Regions from separate parts of the Homo sapiens genome. Here all the other regions are linked to region 1. The links are contacts of gene promoters, found by promoter capture Hi-C in human tissues and cell types (Jung and others, 2019). All regions are on one chromosome and are shown on one strand. The core of a region is centred on a gene start or on the middle of the fragment in contact, and the rest is flanking DNA. Distances in the headings are between cores, read along the strand shown. Region 1 holds the start of MERTK (MER proto-oncogene, tyrosine kinase). Region 2 overlaps ZC3H6 (zinc finger CCCH-type containing 6). Region 3 overlaps ZC3H6 (zinc finger CCCH-type containing 6). Region 4 overlaps ZC3H6 (zinc finger CCCH-type containing 6).

Region 1 (3,287 bases), core at 788-3,287:
TTATGATTGTCTGATTAAAGTTGATTGTCAGCTACAAAAATTTGTTATTACAGCCTTTTAAAATTTTAGAAAAACAAAAGCACTCCAATTTTTAAGTATTTAACACAAAACTATTGTTCCCATTACTTTCTCCATAGTTCTCACCACATTCACTACCTCCAAGACTATTCACGGCCAGTCCTCACTAGTAGCAACAAATAACAGATTTGCAGCAGATTATGAAAAATGGGGCTGGCAGAAATGCTGAGGAATTTTTGAAGGTTTGGTGGAGGGAGGGGCAGTGGAGAACAGAACTGCTTTAGTTCTTTGCCTGGCTCTTAAAGTTTGTTTCAAATTGCTATGTTGCCCCAAATTATAAATTGCTTATGTAATTTAACGTGCAAAAAGTGGGTGCACTGTTTAAGAATTTTTCATTTGAGTAAATGAGCTTTCAAAGGAAAATCTCAAAGGAAAAACTTTTAAGTAACTTACTTGACTATAAACTGAGCTTTCCAGGTATTCCTAAAAAACATCTTTGACTGTAATAGGTGAAGGCTAGTCAAGTGCATTCTCGATCAAAAGAGAGAAAATCTACATGCTGAATGGAAATAGAAACCTTTTAGCTGAGAGAAAATACTTGGAATGTGTTTATTTAGCATTTTTCCCCTTTCTTTTTCTTTTGGGTAAAGCCTGGTAAGTTTATTCCAGCCTCCTCAAGAAGTGCATCAGCGATCAAACTTGAAATCTGTTCATCACTCACTCCCCAAATAAGCTGTTCAAGCAGAATGAAACCGGCCTTCCTTGCCTCCACGTATCAGTCCAGCATCTTGTATTAAAATGCCTGGAACAAGCCGGGCGCGGTGGCTCACGACTGTAATCCCAGAACTTTGGGAGGCCAAGGAGAGCAGATCACGAGGTCAAGAGATCGAGACCATCCTGGCCAACATGGTGAAACCCCGTCTCTACTAAAAATACAAAAATTAGCCGGACGTGGTAGCGCGCGTCTATAGTCTCAGCTACTCGGGAGGCTGAGGCAGGAGAATCGCTTGAACCCGGGAGGCGGAGCCTGCAGTGAGCCGAGATCGCGCCGCGGCACTCCAGCCTGGGCGACAGGGCGAGACTCGGTCTCAAATTAAAAAAAAAAAAGCCTGTAACAACACTTCGCTGAATCCAGATAAACGTAAACGCTGCCGAGCACTGTAAGTTCTGTTCTGCCATAACAGGAGTGAAAAGAACGCTCCCCTTTTCCCACACTCTCTGGGTGCCCCTAAAAAGGGATACTAATAATGCCCGTAAGGGCCCATTGGGAGCAGCCAGGACTGCCGTCCCCCCCTGGCCCGTCGCTCGGCCTCAGTCTATCGCGGCTCCCGGACTGCGGCTCCGACTCCCGCAGCCCGTTCGTTCGCCCCGCGCCGGTCCCTCGGGAGACCGGATCTGTGGCCCCCGGGACTCCGGCCAGAGCGGGGCCCCACCATGCAACTCTAGTGGAAAGTTCTCGTCGCATCCCAGACCAGACCTGCTACCTACGTTCCACTCGTCGGAACTTCAGGACTTGCAGCGCGCCCGGCCGAGCTCGATTTCCTCCTCTGCGGTGAAGAGGGGAGCCTGCAACGCCGACCCCGACCCGGCTTCACCACGATGCGCACCCGCAAGCCAGGCTGGGTGCCCTCGGGACGCTTGAGGCGCCGCGGTCAGTGGACGGTAGGTTCGCCTACGCCCCCTCCTCTGGCACCGCAGTGGGTGGAGGGTGTTTGCAAACTTGTCCAGCAGCCAGGCGCGCCCCTGTGGACGCGCTCCCTCCCCAGAGGCCCCTGCTTCCTCCTGGGAGCCCCCACCCCCTCGCCTGGCCCCCAGCCGGGCGCACTCACCTCTACGCCAGAGCGCGGGGAGGAAGAGGCCCAGCAGCAGCGGCAGCGGGGCCGGCCCCATCCCGGGGCTGCGGATCTGTAATTTCTCTCCGGACGGATGGACAGATGGACGTCCCGAACCTGTCCTGTCGCCGGCCAAGCGCGCCAGCGAAGCTCCCTGTCCGGGCGGCCCGGGCAGTGAGTGCCGAGTGGCGGAGCCAAGCGGCCGGCGGGAGGTGCCGAGGGCTGGAAGGGGCGGGCCGGGGGCCGAGCCGAGGCCGGCCGGGGCTGGAGGAGAGGAGCGGGCAGGGGGGCGAGTCCCGGCGGGCCCAGCAGGTTGGGGTGGGAGGGGGCGGGAGGACGAGGGGGAGGAGGGGCGTAAAGGGGAAAGGGAGGGGGTTGGAGAGAAGGGGCGGGCCGAAGGCCGCCGCTGGGCAGACGGCGGGGAAGGGGGCGGAGAGGAAGGGGAGGGGGCTGAGAGACCCGGAGGGAGCCGGAAAGAGAAGTGAAGGGGAGGGGTGGACTGGAGGTCCACAGCGGAAGGCTCTGGCCGCTGCGCGGGTCCGGGGCCCCACACGTGTGGGTGGGAGATGGGGAAGGACAGAAGGTGGGAGAGGAGTAGAGGATGCCCGAGGCAGCCCCCAGACCCAAGAGGAGGGTCCAGAGGCGCCCCCGCATTCCGGGCTTGGCTGACACAGAAAACCCTGGCCGCGCCGCTCCCAGAGGCCAAGGCCAGGGCGGCAGCGCTCCCTGCCGAGCGCTCCTCCACATCCATTCCGCTCGCCGCCGAGCGCCGCCTGGGTACCCGGCCCGAGGTGCGCGACACGGCCCTGGCGGCGAGGAGCTCACCTCCCCAGGGGGAGGGGTTCCTGGGAAAGGACGCTTTGCCGTGGCTCCGTGACGAGCCAGAGAGAGGTGACACTCAAGGAGGGAGATGAACGTGAATGACAAAGTGCAGAGCAGGAGTGGGGAGAGGGGGAACCACAGCACGTCACTCTCATGGGCCTCCACAAGGTGTGCAGGGTCCAAGAGGCAGTAGCAGAGAGTGAGTCGTAAGAGAAATGTAACTACTTACGCTAATAATGGCAACAGTAACTTAATTTATATACGTAGTTTCTTAAAGGTAACACTTTTAGAATGAATGTATTTTAATGTGGTCCCTTTAACAACATAACATAAGCCAAATCATGTCCCTCTCCTCAAATCTCCCTAAACCTATCAGTGGTTCCTGCTGTCTCTGCGTACGTAAGCCAAGGTTCTGCAGTGGTCTACGAGGTTCTACGTGACCTGGTCCCCTTTCCTCTTTGGCCTCATCTCCTTACGCCTCTTCAATTTACGTTGGTCTCGTCAAGCGGTCCCTTGACCCCTACACTGGCTGGACACTTCCCGTAGATTTGGCTACGGGAAGGAGACAGGCAGCCCAGATGGGTTTAGACAGGTTATTACTTACACCGACAGCAA
Region 2 (3,273 bases), core at 12-2,511, 400 kb before region 1:
TAGTAACAAAACTCAAGCCACAAAACAATTCCTCAACTTGAATCTGTAAAAAAGATTCATAGTAGAACTATAAATCTAATTTCTTTCCAAATACTAGTATCTTTGCTATTATGGAGGCTGAATCCTAGAAACAAACTGACTTTTATATTGATTATGACATTTTATAGATAGAAACCAAAATATTCATTAATAGTATTTTAAAATGCAAATAAACCAACCGATACACATGGAAAGATGAATACATAAAACAATTTTAACATTTAATCATACTTCCAAAACACTATAGTTTGAAAAAGTGCAAACTACTACAAATAGTACATGCAGAAAGGTAACTGTCTATGTATAAATGGCAGCAAATGAAAAACAACTAAACTATGGTGTGGGCATTTTAAAGGTAATTTAGAATTACCAGGTATGTGTAATTTCTTAAATACAAAACTGATCATGTCACTCTCCTGCCATAAATCTTCAATGATATGATATGATATATCTCAAATCTGCTTCAAAATAATCCACTACGGATAGTGGACGTGGTCTTAATAAGATTGGCCATGAGTTGGTAACTGCTGAAACTGGGATGTGTATACGAGGATTCATTCTATTCTTTTTGAGGTGTTCTATAATAAAAAGATAATCTTCAATGGTTCCCTCTGCTCACCCAGCTACTTTCAATTTCTCAAGTCTACAAGCCTTAAAAAGTGCCTAAAATCTCTCAATGCCCAGCTCATGTCACCAGCCTCACCACACCTCTTTCACCTGGCTAATTCCAATTCAGTATTTCGGATGCAGTTTAGATGTCATTTCCTACAAGATGTCTCCCATTACTACCCAGATTTAGGTGAGATGCTTCATTCTAAGTACTCCTCTGCTAGTTCTCATTTCTCTTATCATTGCACTCTGTACATTATGTCAAATGACTTGTTTGTTCATTGGTGAAAGCAGGGTGTATGACTGTCTTTTACAGAGGTATCTCTAGCACCTAGCATGGCACCTTGCTATTTACTGAATCCCTGAATGTATAATACCCATAACTCTTGCATCATAGAAGAGGCATATGATACGACCCTAAAGTGGCTGTAAAGTCACTGGAATTTTCCCCAGCTTCTACTATAAAATCAGAGAGGTAATATTCACTTAGACTTGAAAATTGCTTATGAGGCAGTCTTGGCATTCTGGCTATTTCAATTAAAATGTTTTGAACTTTTATAAACTACAAAACCTTACAATCCGAGAAAATGAGTGCACATATTCACCAAAAGACAAGTATAAGAATGTTTTTGACAGCTGTAGTCATAATAGTAAAAAATTATAAATAACAAATCTCTATCAACAGGCAAATAGATATATAAATTATGCTTTATTTATATCATAGAATACTACAAAGAAAAAATTAACAACTGCTACAAAAAAACAATATAGAGGAATCTTATAGACATAATGAGGAGTGAAAGAAGCCAGACACAAGACAGTACTGTATGATTTCATGTATATGCACTTTGAAAACAGACAAACCAATATATAACAGAAGTCAGAATAGTGATTACCTCTTGCACGAGTGCAAGTGACAAAAAAAGGGGTATTAAGGAAACTTCTGAGGTACTGAAATATTCTGTATATTAATCTGTGTGATTACTATATATACATTATACACATTTGTAAAAACCCATCAAGTTATACATTTAAGTATTGTGTACTTTGCTATCTACATTTATACCACAATAAAATTTAAAACACAAATGACAAAAAAAATCTATAAGTGTTTATCCTTTCTTTTACTGCGCCTCTCCTTCAACGTGAGCTCCTTAAAGCATAAAAAAAATTACATCTGGAAATCACTGCTTCATATTTAGCATTTTAACTAGAGCTATTTAAAAACAAAGTAAACATGCTAAAAATGCCCATAAACTCATGTCCTACTTTACATACATTATTTAAGTGTGAAATGTGGGTCATTTATATTTGTTACGAGATATAAAACACTGCAAGCTTTTAAAATTTTTTTTAGTTTCCCTTAGCCTACTTATCATTTCAGCATTCATATAATAGCAGATTTAAACTTGTATATTTTTGTATGGCTACAAAAAATGCGAGAGAAAGAGGAAATAGAGAAAAATAATTCACACTATGAACTGCTTCCAAACCCTTTGAAATGTCAGCTTTGGACGCATGTGGAAAGCATGTGTGGTATAATGGAAAGAGAAGGAGACTCCATGGGAGGAAAGCTGGATTCTAATTCCAGCTCTATCACCAAAATAAAATAAAGCTTTCTTAATTGAACACCTAGTAATGTATCAGATACTAACCTAGTGATCTTGGGAAATACCTAGAAGAGGTAATAGAAATAATTAAGAGTTCTTATCATTCTCTAGATTTTGAACTAGCTTAATACTATTATATAAGAGCTGTTTTGTTTACTAAACACAAGACTTTAAAAAATGTAATACATCAAATAGATAAGTTCCTCAGTCAATTAATTATATATGTGACGTTTTATTAATATAAACACAATAGACTGATTATGTCCTTTTTAAAAAAGGAGCATATTCATGTTCTTGTACCAATGACTGGTAAATAACTGTTCAGTTAATAAACAATAATTTTAAAAGATTTTATATCTTAGGCAAATCTATACAGATACAAAGTAGATTAGGAGTTGCCAGGTAGATTAGAGGGAAAAATAGGGAGTGAATGCTAGTGGGTAAAGGGTTACTTTGTGGAGTGGTGAAAATGTTCTAAAATTAAATAGTGGTAATGACTGTACTACTCTGAATATACTAAAAACCAGTGATCTGTACACTTTAAAAGTGAAATGTATCTCAATAAAGCTGTTATTTTAAAAAATAGTTAAAAATATTTTTTCTCTAGATCTAAGTATCTAGATTGAGACAACTGGGGAAAATCATAATACCCTATGGTATAAAAATTCAAGACTCTGAAAATGGTCAGTACCCTCGTCACCCATGATGTTCTTATTCTAAGGTAATTATTCATTAAATCTTTACAAACTGATATGCCTTAATAGAGGATTCTACTTTTTTCCACTCTGATATTGATGGCTATTAAAATAAATTAACCTCAACTATTCAGTCTTACCTCCACAGTAGTTTCTGCTTTTTTTTTATGCTTGCCTAAAGGCTCCTGTTACAAGCTACAGATCAGAAACTGAGTCTTCTGGAAGAAACACAAAAGCCTCTATAAAAGACTATACAAGTACTCCTGATAGATGATAGTACAATGACATTACTCATGAATGCAAACTTCTTGGGATAATAT
Region 3 (2,956 bases), core at 391-2,890, 430 kb before region 1:
GTTCAAGGTTCACAATGAGGTCTTAACCAAGATATGAGACAGCAGTTGCTGAATCTCAATTGTCATGATCTTCTGTGTGTTCCATTTCAACCCCCTGCTATATCCACTGTATTCATCATCACAGTAAACAGGTATAGAATTTCCATCACAAACAGTATGAATAGCTAAGTTACATCTCATTGGATGAGCCTATCCATACTCTTAAGACTCAAGTTATTTCTGTTATCTCTAAATGTGTGGCTTCTAAGAACAGGAACGTAACTTACTTTTCAATCTAACAGTGCAAATCAAATTACATGGATTCTAAAAACACCAATTGACCTAAAAGAAGAGGTATTCATTGGGGGAAAATGGCTACTTATTCAATTTGTATGAGAAAATGGGAAAAAAGAAGAAAAATAAACTATGTTTACAGGATATGACAGAATATCCCATAAACTAACGTTATCACAATAAAAATGCTGCATAATAAATAAGTTATTTTAAACATAAACATTTTCATATAAAATATATTGTCAAATTTGAAACTAAGTTCAAACTTTCTTGTAAAATAGCCTCTAGAACACCAATTGAGGTAACAGGGACTCAAGAATACTGAATAAATGAACATTACATAATTTGCATTAATAACTTTTAAACCTGACTCTTTAATAAATCTTGGAATATCTCTTTTAGTTGTAAAAAAGATATTCGGTTAAGAGTTTGGATTCTATTTTGATGTTTAGCAAGCCAAATTATCTTTTTTGTATGATGCTTAAAATGTAAACAGCACTGCTTGACACAATAATTATAAACTACATGAATGAAAGATTTGCTAAAAATTTCATTTACTAAAATCAGCCATTTTTCTGATTTTATCCTGACAAAAGAGTAAATTACACCTTGGGATATATATATATGTTTTTTTTCTGTCAGTTTAATCCATTTTATTGACTTCTCAATTAACAACAAAATTCATTTGGACAGTAAATCAGAAAATACTTTCTATGGTGGCTTTAAATTACATTTTTTAACCCAAAAATGTTATCCAGAGCCATTTTAGACAACAAATGTATCTTAAGTACAAACGGTAAAAATTCACATTCCCTTCAGTAACTCTCCTTCCACTTAGAACACAATGAACTTCTTAGGTAGGCAGAGTTCTCGTTCACTTAACCACAACCCCATTTTAGCACAGAACTGCAGCAAAAAGAATTGAAGAAGTGATTAGAAAGGATATGCATTATTAATAAACCATATGCTATGTGAGTGTTAGGTTCCCACGAAATATTTTACTGTATATTTAAAAAAAAATCCCTTCTCAAGGGCACTGCTTTCATTCAAGGACTGATTTCATTACCTACTTCATTATCTTTTATAGTGAAATGCTCCTTTTCAAGTTATTAATACACATTGGAGTTGTTACCAGCAAACACTGTCCTACACCTGCAGTTCAAAATATGAGTAGCAGTCTAATACTTAGATTCAGTTATAAATTATATATGTATAAAACAAAGAGTTGCCATTATTTATATATTGTAATAAATACACAAGAATGAATACAAGTTATTTTTCATAAAATACAATTTCTAATCAATTTAGGGGATTTCCACACTATGAGGACATTAAATACTTAAAACACCAGGTAATCCCCTCTGTTACAGAATGCCAGCCGGGTGAGATCTTAAAGAGATTCTTTATTGATAGCCAAATACTGTTGACTATACTAGCAATCTGTATTTTCTTGCTATTTAAGAAAAAAATACAGAACCTAGACATTTAAAACATTATCCGTGTAATAATCACTACAGACTCTCACTGGGTCTTTAAAAATTTTGTTAAAAATCGCCAAAGTCATGATGAACACAATTAATGCAGCTACATCATTTGAAAAAGCAATATAAATTATGCTGTTAAAGACAAAAACATTGACATACATAAACATCACAATGTAACACAGCAGTAACTAATTGCTATTTCATATGAAAAATTAAATGTAAAAAGTTATGCTAGAGAACTTGGAAATTTTTCACTTTAGCAAAATGTTCTATTTATATACCTCCAACTTCTATGATACAGTATACAATAAAATACTTTAAAAAGATATGACATTCAAATGCTTCATTTACACAAATAATATTGCCAATACTAATAAAAGTGATGCCCTTAAACATGAACTGCTCTGCTAATTGTAATTTTAAAATGTTTTCTTTACTTGATTTTACATTTTAATTAGCAGGTAGCATTACATATTAATCAGTTCTGTGCTGACAAATAAGAGAGGTCCTAGTCAAAATACTGTTTCTCAAAAGTAATGTACATCATATTGCTTGAAACTAAACAACCATATAAAAAGTGGCAATCATTTATCTAAACATTGATTATGAAAGACAACTGGCATATATTCAGGCAGAGTGTTGAGTTCATGATTGTTTATTTACAATAAAAGTACTTTTACTGAAGCTAACATAAGTTTTTAGGTCAATTACTACAGTCTCTTAAAGTTATAAAAATATTATATAAAATACCACAGGCTTTAGAGGCTATAACTTCATGTGGTTCTGATACTAGCAGCTGAAAAGTGTTTATAATTTAAAAATAAATAAACTATAGAGGTAAACCAGTTACAAAACAGCAGAGGACTGAGATAGTCACAAGAGTGAAAAGAATTGCTCAGTTACACAATAGCTAACAAAATGGTGAAGCAGTTGGATCAAAAGTTTTAAAAACCTCTTTCAGAGATTTGTCATCTGTTTCTCTACCGGGATCATTATCTGGGGTCGGGCTCCCCTGTCCTGGCTGCCTTGCCTGCCTTGGATCACTGTACTGTGGCCTAATTAAGCCTGTTAATGCCTGAACAGGAAGGCTGTGCACTGCTGGGACCTGAACCTTACCAGAACTCCTGGGAACGTCCGCCTGTGGGTCAGCTGGCCCCTCAAGAGTGACTCCCACGTTTGGACTGGGTTTTTGTGGAAGG
Region 4 (2,978 bases), core at 42-2,541, 420 kb before region 1:
GGTGCCATGAATAAAATGGGGATAATAACATTAACTACTTTGTAGGGTCACTGTAGGATTAAATCATTTAATATTAGTTGTACTTTGAACAGTACTTGCCACGTAGCATTATGTGTCTTTTAAACAAATCCGATTTCAACAAATTATGTTATTGTCCCAGAACATAATTAAATGAGCTCTAATGTACGGTATTTCCATGCAAGATACATTTTAAAGACCCAGTTTTATTACAACTATATGAGAAGAGAAAAAAATTAACCATCCCCCAAAAGACTTTAATTTTAAAGATTATTTTGGAAGTTAAAATGACTTATGATACCTCTATAAATTTACCTTAATACACCTCCCTTCCAGGAAGTATTTACAGATTTGTTTTCCTTTGTGTTCCACTGTGTGCTGATTAATAAATTCCTGAGTCATAACCTTCCATTTTTTCCCTGGTTTATTATACTGCAAGAAAAAAATTCCATTTGAATGCAGCATATGAAATATTAATAGGTATCAAAATGTATGATTAAGTTGATCTGGAAAAAAGTACAAATTGACTACAAAAAGTGATCAAGATTGAACATTCTGATGCTATTCATTTATTTGGAGAGAGATATGTGTCTAGTAATCTACTTATGCTACTAGTGATCGCAAAAAAAAGCCTATTTCTTTCTATTTTAATGAAGATGAATAACTTTTTAAATAAAATTATAAAAAGTTTAAAAATTCACAATTCTCAATTTGGGCAAAGACACAATAAAATATGCACTCATATTATTGATAGGTATGTTATAAAAGACTTTAAAATATCCATATTGTTTGACATACAACTTGTACTTTTTGGGATTATTTTGAAAGAATTATCAGGGAGACACAAAGATCTAGTCATATAATAAAATACTGACATAGTAAAACAAACAGCAAAACGAGAAACACTCTACACATTTAAAACTAGAAGACTGGTCAAATATATTATGATACACTTAGGTGGTAGAATATTATGCAGTCATTAAAAAATCAACAACTTTGGATCATAAAAACTGTTTACAGATCAGGCATGGTGGCTCATGCCTGTAATCCCAGCACTTTGGGATCATTTGAGGCCAGGAGTTTGAGACCAGCCTGGCCAACATAGTGAAATCCTGTCCATACTAAAAATACAAAAAATTAGCCAGGTGTGGTGGCACACACCTCTGTAATCTCAGCTACTTGGGAGGCTGAGGCACGAGAATCGCTTGAACCTGGGAGGTGGAGCCTGCAGTGAGAGCCAAGATCACGCCACTGCATTCCTGCCTGGGCAACAGAGTGAGAGTGTCTCAAACAAACAAACAAAAAAAAAACAAAAAAAAAGTTTACAATATTTTATGAAGTAAAAAATTGATCCCAATTCTACAATAATAAATAAAGGCAAAGGAAAAAAGACAAAAAGAATATACCCCCATATTTTACAGTGTATGTCTCTGGATGGCAGGATTAGAGATTTTATGTGTGTGGTTATTTTGTACTTTCTTTAGGGGAAAAAAAGGGCAAACAAACAGGCGGCGTGTATTACTTTTAACTTTTAAATATAAAAAGTTAAGAAAAAAACTTAAGAAAATTAAAGGAAAAGAAATCTTATAGCCCTACTTGTTTTCCTTACTTCTCCTGAGTCCCCTATTCAACTTCTGCTTTAAGTATAAGATTAAGTAACAAGGCAGAGTATGATGCTTAGCCATGCTAAATGTAATGAGTTACATTCATCAACTCTAAAAAACAACATTATTTTTCATGCACCTGGCATGCACTGTGCCCTGTATATCATAGGAGTTCAATGACTATTTACTCTTCTGATTTGATTTCTGTTTTCCCTTTTCTCTTAATTTGCTAAAAGATAGAGCATAAAGTTCAATCTACTGAAAACAAGAGATTGCCTCACAGCAAACATTGAGGCAATAGATGTCTAAATTGAAATCTGATCCCCAGCATTCACAGCTCAAATCACATTTTACTGTAAGAATTCTAAAAAAGGTACAAGAATACAAAGTAAACAGATAATCCTAGAGATTCGTTTTAAAAATATAAACATACCTAATTTACCCCAGGAAAACACAATGAAATTGCTTATAATATACTATGACAGAATCATTTAAAGTGTCTCAAATCTATATAAATTTGATTCACAAACATTTTTATGTTTAGAGATTCGTTTAGAATAAGCAGATATAAATGACCAGCTCACATAGGCATTCTATACAAAGAATCATGGCTGTTATAAAATAAAATAAACAGCCAAAGAAAGTAAATTATGCAAAAATCAATGAGCAACCTGAGGAATATAACTCTGAAATTAAAAAGTAAAAAAATTAGGTAATCACACACACACACACACCCTGAAAAATGCAACAAGTTGTACTTAGCGTTTCATTAATAACTTACTCTTTCTGTATACATTACTTCCAAATAATGTTTCATTGTTTTAATAGAGGATTGTGGTGAGGAAGTGTTTTGTTTTGTTTTTTAGTTTAGTTCCACTTAAATGAGTAGAAAGTATGTCAGTGTCCACAGCTATGGGAAACCTGACTATAATCAAGGTACTATAGAAAATCTAAAGCAACTTTAACAAATAAATTTTTAGGGCAAAATTAAGTGCCCAGAAGATATGGTGAGTTAGCAGACTGACAGAACTCAGGAATTGTGCCTTGCAACTCCTCCTATATTCTTTGCATTACAAGACAGTACTGCGAATAAAAAAAAATACAAGAATGAAGGAGAGAAAGAGGGAGAGATGGAGGGAGAAAAAAAACCAAGCTACCTACTGTACTTGGTCATTTTAAAACTTATTTACTTTAGAAGATATATTGATACAAGAGACAAGAGCATAAAATATTAATATATATCAGGTAGAGGAAATGTAAGGATCTACCAGGAAAATAATATTTATTACAAAAAAATGTAATAGGTACAGTAAATACTAAAACAATTTAAGAGTATTATGGCCAATAAAATGAAGA

Evidence for each region. The method cuts DNA at HindIII sites, captures the fragments that hold promoters and counts their contacts. A contact is called where the count stands out against the background at its distance.
Region 2: a contact is called between a fragment that was not itself captured here and the fragment with the promoter of MERTK in region 1, in 2 of the 25 tissues and cell types used here (aorta and dorsolateral prefrontal cortex).
Region 3: a contact is called between a fragment that was not itself captured here and the fragment with the promoter of MERTK in region 1, in 1 of the 25 tissues and cell types used here (lymphoblastoid cells).
Region 4: a fragment that was not itself captured here is called in contact with the fragment with the promoter of MERTK in region 1 in 1 of the 25 tissues and cell types used here (liver).

What each region holds. Positions count from the first base shown.
Region 1 is chr2:111,897,357-111,900,643 of GRCh38, reverse strand. MERTK (MER proto-oncogene, tyrosine kinase) reads right to left here and starts at 2,037. Exons shown (of 19, transcript NM_006343.3): 1 at 1,848-2,037. The coding sequence starts at 1,908. RefSeq lists an enhancer at 2,569-2,898. The HindIII fragment of the contact is 10,682 bases long and covers 1-3,287 here.
Region 2 is chr2:112,294,489-112,297,761 of GRCh38, reverse strand. All of the region lies in intron 1 of ZC3H6 (zinc finger CCCH-type containing 6), which reads right to left. Among named protein-coding and RNA genes, the nearest start is that of ZC3H6, 21 kb to the right of the region's middle. The HindIII fragment of the contact is 3,332 bases long and covers 1-2,927 here.
Region 3 is chr2:112,332,200-112,335,155 of GRCh38, reverse strand. ZC3H6 (zinc finger CCCH-type containing 6) reads right to left here. Exons shown (of 12, transcript NM_198581.3): 12 at 1-2,956. The coding sequence ends at 2,668. Among named protein-coding and RNA genes, the nearest start is that of ZC3H6, 58 kb to the right of the region's middle. The HindIII fragment of the contact is 5,053 bases long and covers 1-2,956 here.
Region 4 is chr2:112,313,942-112,316,919 of GRCh38, reverse strand. ZC3H6 (zinc finger CCCH-type containing 6) reads right to left here. Exons shown (of 12, transcript NM_198581.3): 6 at 334-450. Among named protein-coding and RNA genes, the nearest start is that of ZC3H6, 40 kb to the right of the region's middle. The HindIII fragment of the contact is 4,981 bases long and covers 1-2,978 here.